Linked DNA regions of Homo sapiens: region 2 is linked to region 1. The links are contacts of gene promoters, found by promoter capture Hi-C in blood cells and fetal thymus (Javierre and others, 2016). All regions are on one chromosome and are shown on one strand. Each heading gives the region's core, a stretch centred on a gene start or on the middle of the fragment in contact. The rest is flanking DNA. Distances are from core to core; before and after follow the strand shown.

Region 1 (4,241 bases), core at 547-3,046:
GGTAGGTGTCATCTCCATTTTAGAGATGAGGAATTCGATTTTCAGTAAAGGAACATATTCAAGGTCACACAATGTGTCAGTTAGAATTAAAACCCAGGACTGTTAAACTCGGAGGCTCAAGCTTTTACCATACATGCAAAATCTGCAAAGAAAATTGTTCTTTAACCTATGAATCAAATGGCTTGATTGATAAGAGAAAATGACAGATGTGTGGACATCAATCATAGTCTCATGGGTATTACAGATATTATAGTGAAGGCATTTTGTAGCTATAACTTGTTCCAATTTGCAGATTCTTCTTATGCTGAGCTCTGAATAGTACTAACCAGAAATCTCACCACGCTTTATTCAACATAGAGACGAATATTATGAGAGTTCATCTTGAACTCTATGTACTCTAGCCAATGATATTGTTACTTGAACGAAAAAATTTATAAGCCAGTCTATCCAAAAAACAAATGATCTCCAAAAAAAAAAAATTAGGTCACTCAGAAAGCATCATCTCTGGTACCACTGCTCTTTCGGGAGATCAACAGTGGGTTATTTTTCCACAAATCCCAAGTTGTTTTTAAGCCAATCATTCTTCCTCTTCATTCATATACAAACCTCAGCGTCTAGCAAGGCTATCTGGAGCTCTAGTACTAAAAACAACGCCTCACACAATGCCACCCACGGTAAGAACACGACGGTTTGCCTGTGTGTTTGCAACTTTTCACAATGGAACTAGATTGAAAAAAACAATAGGGAAACCTCTTCAACAGAAAAACGTCTCAGGTAATAAAATAAATGTGATTGATACTGGAAGGTATCACAAAAACGCAGAAAAATTCTCAAAGATAAGTACAAATGAAAGAATATCATTCTGAAGGTTTTCATCACAGGCTGCTGTACCAATATGGAGAATGAAGATACAAGAAAAGCATAAACTTAAACTTAGTGGCCAAGACTTTAGCAGATATTGCATGGATCAAATGTAAGTGCTCAAGGCTACTAAGTTATAACTCTTCTTTTGGTTATAAATATTCACTTCAGTAAACTTTAGGTGGGATCTGAATAGAGAACACAAGTTACTTTCTTCATAACGGATATATAGAGTCGCAAAGAATAAGCATTAATTGAGCATTAATTAATTATACCTTCAGGTACCAAGAGAACCAACCGGAACAGAAATTAAGTCATTCCTTCTTTATCTCTACAGAAGCGACAAGGTGAGGGCACGAAGGATGCCAAGATTAGAGGCTCTAGAAGATCTCGCCTTCTTTTCCAGAGAAGATGCTCAAAGATCTGTCTGCTAACTGGGCCCCAAGAAAGAGACCGGATCCTTTTAGGGATCCGGATATTGTTTCCTGGGAGGAGAGCCTGGAGGGCAGGAACAAGACCCCGGCCTGCGAGGCCAGGCAGCGGCCACCCTTCCCCCACTCACCTCCCGGAGCGCAGCTTAACTGGGGTTGTGCGAGTAACTGCTGCCATCACCATCGCCATCAGTCTGGGCGCTTGCTTAAGTGGAGAGGGGAGGCCCAACCACTCCTGCACCTCGTGTAGGTCTTACAAAGCAGATGCTTTTCTGCCACCCCCAACCCCGCTTCGGCGTTCCGGTCCCAACCCAGCCGTCACGGTCATCGCCTCCGCCGGTTCCCTGGGCGCCGCCACCACTTCCGTGTTCAGCTCCCTCCCTTCCTCCCTGATTTGCCCGGGCAACCGGCTAATTTCCACGCGGAGGGCGCCGCAGCTGACGCCACCACCCGGCGACCTCTGTCGGGACCTGCGCTGGGCGTGGGCGGGTCGGCGCAGGCGCAGTGTGGTGAGCGAGCCGAAGCGCGGGAAGCAGCTCTTGTGGATCCTCAGTGGCGGAGGCTCGGTCACCCGGGTGAGTCCCCACTCCGGCTGCCCGCGTCCACCAAGGAGATGCGTGTTCCCTTTCCGGCTTATTGTCTGACAGACCCTCTGCCTTATCCCGCTGGTGTCACTCGGGTGGGGGAAACCGGGCTGCGGAGAACGGGCCCTAGAGGAGACTAAGCTCTCTTCCTATCCCTAGCCTCGCTGCTTTTCTCTTTTGAAATAATAAGACTGGCTTTTATAAAACATTTTCAGATAGGTAAAGGAAAACATGCCTGCCACACGGAAGCCAATGAGATATGGGCATACAGAGGGACACACGGAGGTCTGTTTTGATGATTCTGGGAGGTAAGGTTCTTTGAGAAACAACGTTTTAGGTGCAAATGTTAAAACATTTATCCTTAAACTTTATATGTGCAGTCAGCTAAAAATGACTCATGCGGATAGAGGAATAATGTTGAAATCTAAAATGGCACACATATTTCTTTAGATTATTGTTTGATTCGGGCCGTCATGGTAGTTGTAGTATATCGACAAAGTTATAATCGTACTTCCAGAGGAGTTGGAAAGATGCGAGCTTCTCTCCATATATTTTCCCCTTCCCTGCATCTTACATTATTAATTTTGTCAGATCACTAGTTACTGCCTACTTGTCAAATTCAGTGGCCTGTTCTGTTTGGAATGATATCCTTCCATGCCTTTAGTGATGCTATTTCCCTTTTTGCTTATTTTTTTTTAACTTTTTGACGGCTTAAAACAATTTTTTCCTCTGATTCCTAAACTATAATATTTTCCTACGGTTATTCTGGTCCCTTTTATCTTTCCAAGTCCCATTCTTACGCACTACTGCTCGATTGCACGGCTTCCACTGTCGCTTCTATGTTGATTGATTCATTGAAAAAATACTTGTGTGTCTCTTTTGCTGGGGACTACAGATAGAATAGAGCGAACCAGACACAGTCTTTTCCTCCTTTGAGCTTAAGGTCTTTTTGGATTGACAGGCATTGAACACAAATTAATCACAAAAATAAATGTGTATTTAGAAACAAGTAATATGTGCAGTGATAAACATGTATGAGGAGAAGCTCATCTAGTTAAAGGAGTCAGGGAAGGCTTCTTTGGACAAGTGTTTCTTGAGACGCCATCTGAAGACGGAGCAGGCATTAAGCAGTATAAAGAGATGAGTGGTGGTGGCGGTGGGGTGGTGATGTTGGCATAGTAAGCAGAGGCAATACTGTGTGTAAAGGCCCAATGGGGCCAGGGATCATGGTATGCTCAAAGAACTGAAGGAAAACTAGCCTTACTAAAATGTGGAGAGTGATGCAGAGTTTAGTGAGAGATGAATCTGTGAAGTTAGGCAATGGATGTCCTATCCAAGACCTTCTGGACTTTATTAAGGAATCTCGTTTTATCCTAAAAGCACTGAGAAGGTATTAAAGGCTTGAAGCAGAGAGATGTGATCAGGTTTGTTTTTGAGAAAATGCATGGAGGATGAATTGGAAAAGGAGCACTCATGGATGCAGAAAGACTGTTAGAAGATACCTGTATTAGTTTGTGTAGGGGCGGGTTGCCCCTCCACACTTGTGGGTGTTTCTCGTAAGGTGGAACGAGAGACTTAGGAAAGAAAAAGACACAGAGACTAAGTATAGAGAAAGAAATAAGGGGACCCGGGGAACCAGCGTTCAGCATATGGAGGATCCCGCCAGCCTCTGAGTTCCCTTAGTATTTATTCATCATTTGTGGGTGTTTCTCGAAGAGGGGGATGTGTCAGGGTCACAAGACAATTGTGGGGAGAGGGTCAGCAGACAAACACGTGAACAAAGGTCTTTGCATCATAGACAATGTAAAGGATTAAGCGCTGTGCTTTTAGATATGCATACACATAAACATCTCAATGCTTTACAAAGCAGTATTGCTGCCCGCAGGTCCCACCTCCAGCCCTAAGGCGGTTTTTCCCTATCTCAGTAGATGGAGCATACAATCGGGTTTTATACCGAGACATTCCATTGCCCAGGGACAGGCAGGAGACAGATGCCTTCCTCTTGTCTCAACTGCAAGAGGCATTCCTTCCTCTTTTACTAATCCTCCTCAGCACAGACCCTTTACGGGACGGTCAGGTCTTTCCCTTCCCACGAGGCCATATTTCAGACTATCACATGGGGAGAAACCTTGGACAATACCTGGCTTTCCTAGGCAGAGGTCCCTGCGGCCTTCCGCAGTTTTTGTGTCCCTGGGTACTTGAGATTAGGGAGTGGTGATGACTCTTAAGGAGCATGCTGCCTTCAAGCATCTGTTTAACAAAGCACATCTTGCACCGCCCTTAATCCATTTAACTCTGAGTTGACACAGCACACGTTTCAGAGAGCACGGGGTTGGGGGTAAGGTTATAGATTAACAGAATCTCA
Region 2 (4,364 bases), core at 380-2,879, 560 kb before region 1:
AGGTGTCAGACATATAGTTCACAGCGATGAACAAGACAGTCCCTGCCTCACATTATTTATATTCTTGTAGGTGAGGCAGATACCAAGAAAGAAATAAGCGTATTATAACATCAGGTTGTGACTGATAATGCAATGAATAAAAATAAGGCTGTGACAAAGAATAGGGAGGGTATGCATTTTTAGGTAGGGTCAGAGTTGGCGTTTTCGAGGTAACCATTAAGAAATGTCTATAAGATCACACAAGAGTAACTTATAATGAACATATGCAGGAAATGAAACAGAAAAGTTTCTTGGAAACAAAAGGACGACATTCTATCTACTGCTTTCCATATAACTAAAACATTTTATAGCATGTGGTTTAAGTAGCTTTTACTGTTTTCTCCACTTGAAAAACTTCAAGTCTTTAAATTTAAATCACTAGTTTTAAGAATTAATCTTCTAATTCCTATGGGGGGGAGGGGGATCCTTATAACCTTAATTTAGCTTTGTAATGCCTAACATTAGACAGCTGCACATGGACAGCGTTTTGTTTTCTTCAGAAAGCATTCTTATAAAACAGCTCAACGGGTAAGAATGGGCTCTAAGTCAGAATGCCTCAGTTAAAATTCAGGCTCCTCCTAAAGATATTTGTGTCTTTGAACAAATTATTTGTCTCCCTAGTTTTCACCAAATAGTACCTACCTCATAAGGTTGTTGAGAAGATTAAATATGATATGATATGATAATGCACCTAAAGCATTTAGAGTTTGACAGCAAATATGTACTCCAATGTTAGCTATCACTTATGAGGCAACTACTGAGGTAAGATAATTCCTTAATGAGCCTTAGGCAGGTTAATATAGGTTAAGATCACACATGCAGTAAGTGGTACTGACTAGCAAAACTAAATTCAAGCCCAAGGTCTTCAGGCTCCCTAGTGCCCAAGCTGTTTCCACTACCCCACAGAACATTATGTAATTAAAGAACTGGACAATAAAGAACTTGCATAAAACCTTAGAGTTAATAAGGTCTAAGACCTGTAGGTCTCCTAACTAGTGACTTCCAGCTTATTATACCAGACCAGATTGTTTCCTTAACAACTCAATGACTCATGCATAAGAATAATAATTGTCCCACATTTTCCAGCGAAAATGCAGTGTAACATCATGTCTCCTGATAGACAATGTACACTTACTTGAATTCACATAAGTTCTGAAAACTAATTGTAGATGTTACTCAGAGTCAAAATAAAGAAATAAGGGTAAATAACATTCTCTTCTAGTAATTATAGGCTGCTATGATCCTACGGCCCCTATGGAACCTATTCAAAGTGGAAGCTGTCTTACAGGATCTCTCACTGGATTAACTGACATTCTCCTCCTTTGTAAAAATACATGGGCTGGTGTCTTCAGAAAGCTGTTTCTGGCTAGCAATTACTCTCCTACTCACTTATTTCTATATATCTATCAAACATGAAAATAGAGTCAAAAGGTGTTATTTCTATAAAAATGACATTAAATCCTTTGGAAGGCCTTGATGAATAACTGGAAAAATCTATAAAGATTTTGTACTTGGAGAGTTTCCCAGTGCCTATCTTTTCATTCCACTTTAAAGAAACCAATACTAGAAATCATAGATAATGCTTTTAGAGTACAATCTATGAAAGGAAAATCAGGATAACCTTTATTTTAAGAAAAGAAATCAGTAAAAATAAAAAGGCAAATAAAAGTAAAATCAAATATTTTAAGTGAAAACATTTAAGGTGCACATATATTTTGATTCCTTGCTTTAACCAACTTTTTGAATTAACTAACAAATGGTCCTAATCATGTGGAGTATGTAAGAGGGTCTCCACCACACTCTAACATCATTCCTTCCACCAAGCAGCTCCCAAAGGCTCCATGCCACTTTCTTCCACTCTCTGACCATCCCTGAAAGAGGAAAGGAGCAAACTGAAAACTACATGTATCCAATAATGAGTTATCCATCAAAGGAAGGAATGTGAGATTTTTTTTTTTTTTTTTTTTTTTTTGAGACACAGTCTCACTCTGTCACCCAGGCTGGAGTGCAGTCGCACCATCTCAGCTCACTGCAACCTCCACCTCCCTGGCTCAAGCAATCCTCCCACCTCAGCCTCCCAAGAAGCCGGGACCACAGGCACACGCTACCATGCCTGGCTATTTTTATATTCTTTTTAAAGATGGGGTTTTGCCACGTTGCCCAGGCTGGTCCCAAACTGCTGGGCTCAAGCAATCCACACACCTTGGCCTCCCAAAGTGCTGGCATTACAGATGTGGGTCATCACACCCAGCCAGGATTTAATTATTGTGTTCAACAAATTCTTATTGAGGACCTGCTATGTGCTAGACACTGCTCTGAACTCTTAAAGAGTCATCAATAAAACAGACAAAAAGCCTACCCTCATAGAAGCTATGTAATACTGTGTTTGAGGGTTATGTGGAAGAGACAATAAACACAACCAGGAAATTATATAGTATGACAGAAGGTGACAAATGCTATAAAGAAAACGGAGCAAGGTACAAGAATCAGACGTAGGGGAGTGCAGTTTTAAATAAAATAGGCACATCTTTTTAAGAAACTGACATTTAAAAAGCAAAGACTGGACGGAGACAACAAGCCATGCATGTATCTACAGGGTAACAGCCAGTGTAAAAAACAGCTCTGTTTCCTCCATGGCACTTGTCACCTTCTTGCCAGGAGAAGTAAACAGTATATAATTTCCTCATTGATTGTGTTTATTATCTCTTCCCCTTGCCCTCAAACATACACTATTACACAACTTCTATCAGGGCAGAGCTTTTCGTCTGTTTTGTTTATTGATGGAGCCTAAGCGTTTAGGGCAGTGTCTGATATGTAGCTGCCCTTAGGAAAACCATTGGAGCCAGAGAGAAGTAAGCAGAGGGATGATAGTAGCTAACCTTAGAGGTAAGGGGGAATGAGGAGAGTGGAAGTGTCCAGATTCTGCATGGCCTTAAGGACATAAGAACTTCAGCTTTCACTGTGCATAGAGAAAGTCACTGTAGCATTCTGAGAAGATAAGTAATATGATCCAGTTGTTGTGTTGGAAAGACTGCAGGGAGTTAGGGCAGAGGCAGGGAGATCAGTTAGGAGGCTAATTGCAGAAATCTAGGTAAGAGATAAGAATGGCTTGCACCAGGCTGGTGAGCAGTGGAAGCAGTAAGTACTGATTGGATTCTGGTTATATTTTCAAGATAAGACAGAGCACAGAATGCCAAGTGTGAAAGAAATAAGTCAGGGATGACTCCAACGTTTTTTTACCTGAATGTTTGATGGAAACATCAAACATCAAACATGTTTGAGGAAAAATACGGAAATTTAGTTGGAGTTGACTACTGCACATCCAAGTGGATAGGCCTAACAGCACATGTGGAAAGTCTGGGTTGGAGATATAAATATGGGAGCCATCAGCATATAGGTATTTAAAACCATGACACTGGATAAGATTGTCAGAGGAATATAAAAAGAAAAGTGAAACAAGGACTGAGCATGTCAAGTTTAAGAGTAGAAGATGTAAGATAGAATGAACAAAGCAATTAGGAAGGAGAAAGCCCAAAAAGCAGAATGTCCTGGAAGAAGAGTGCAAACAAATTACATTTAGTGTACAAATCACTTTGCTGAAACCAGATTTAAGTTACGGAAGAGTTCTTAATCTCCCTGTAGTAGCTAGGACGATTCGTAAAATACTAAATCATAACTTTTTTTAGGGTATGTCTTCTACATTTCCGAGGAATATTATATTTCCTATCAGAGTATCTACTAAAACTATTGTTAGAATTAAAAGTATATCTTGCCTATTTTCTTTTACATAAAACCAATTAAAAGCTTGTACCATTTTTTAAAAAAGAAAAATAGCCTAGTTTTCACTGCCACCTCTGTCAAAAACACATTTAAGCACAACAGCTCGGCACACAGTTGTAAACTGTCATTATTTCTCTTTCTCTAGACCTCAGATACAGAAGGTTAAATTAAACCCCTTAGTTCACAGCACATAAGGTTCTTCCCCTTAATGTTTAATTTTCTATTTATAGAGGAGGGAAAAAGGCTTATATTCTCATCTAGACCAATATTTTCCCAGTGATTTGAAAATAAATTACATTTTTTGATTGGGACAAAGTCATGTTCACAGGAACTGAAAGAGGAAGCAATGAAATGCAATTCTCTTTGAGCATGAGTGATCACCAATGTCACTTCTAGAGAAATAGTTACTTGCTTGTATCCTCTAAGTATACTCTGGATTTACCTTCAAAGTCACTAAAAACAGTACAGAGAACAAGCAGGTCATAAGGTGTATTCTCAAATATATGAACGATCTTGCAAAGCACGATTTTTCTCATTTCCTTATT

Evidence for each region. The method cuts DNA at HindIII sites, captures the fragments that hold promoters and counts their contacts. A CHiCAGO score of 5 or more calls a contact.
Region 2: a fragment that was not itself captured here is called in contact with the fragment with the promoter of WDHD1 in region 1 in 1 of 17 cell types (total CD8 T cells); the score reaches 5.7 in total CD8 T cells.

What each region holds. Positions count from the first base shown.
Region 1 is chr14:55,024,654-55,028,894 of GRCh38, reverse strand. WDHD1 (WD repeat and HMG-box DNA binding protein 1) reads left to right here and starts at 1,796. Exons shown (of 26, transcript NM_007086.4): 1 at 1,796-1,867; 2 at 2,092-2,184. The coding sequence starts at 2,108. SOCS4 (suppressor of cytokine signaling 4) reads right to left here and starts at 1,659. Exons shown (of 3, transcript NM_199421.2): 1 at 1,424-1,659. RefSeq lists enhancers at 920-1,446, 1,447-1,974 and a silencer at 1,769-1,818. The HindIII fragment of the contact is 4,247 bases long and covers 124-4,241 here.
Region 2 is chr14:55,582,779-55,587,142 of GRCh38, reverse strand. The region is part of intron 1 of KTN1 (kinectin 1); the gene reads right to left. Among named protein-coding and RNA genes, the nearest start is that of KTN1, 4.8 kb to the right of the region's middle. The HindIII fragment of the contact is 4,433 bases long and covers 1-3,845 here.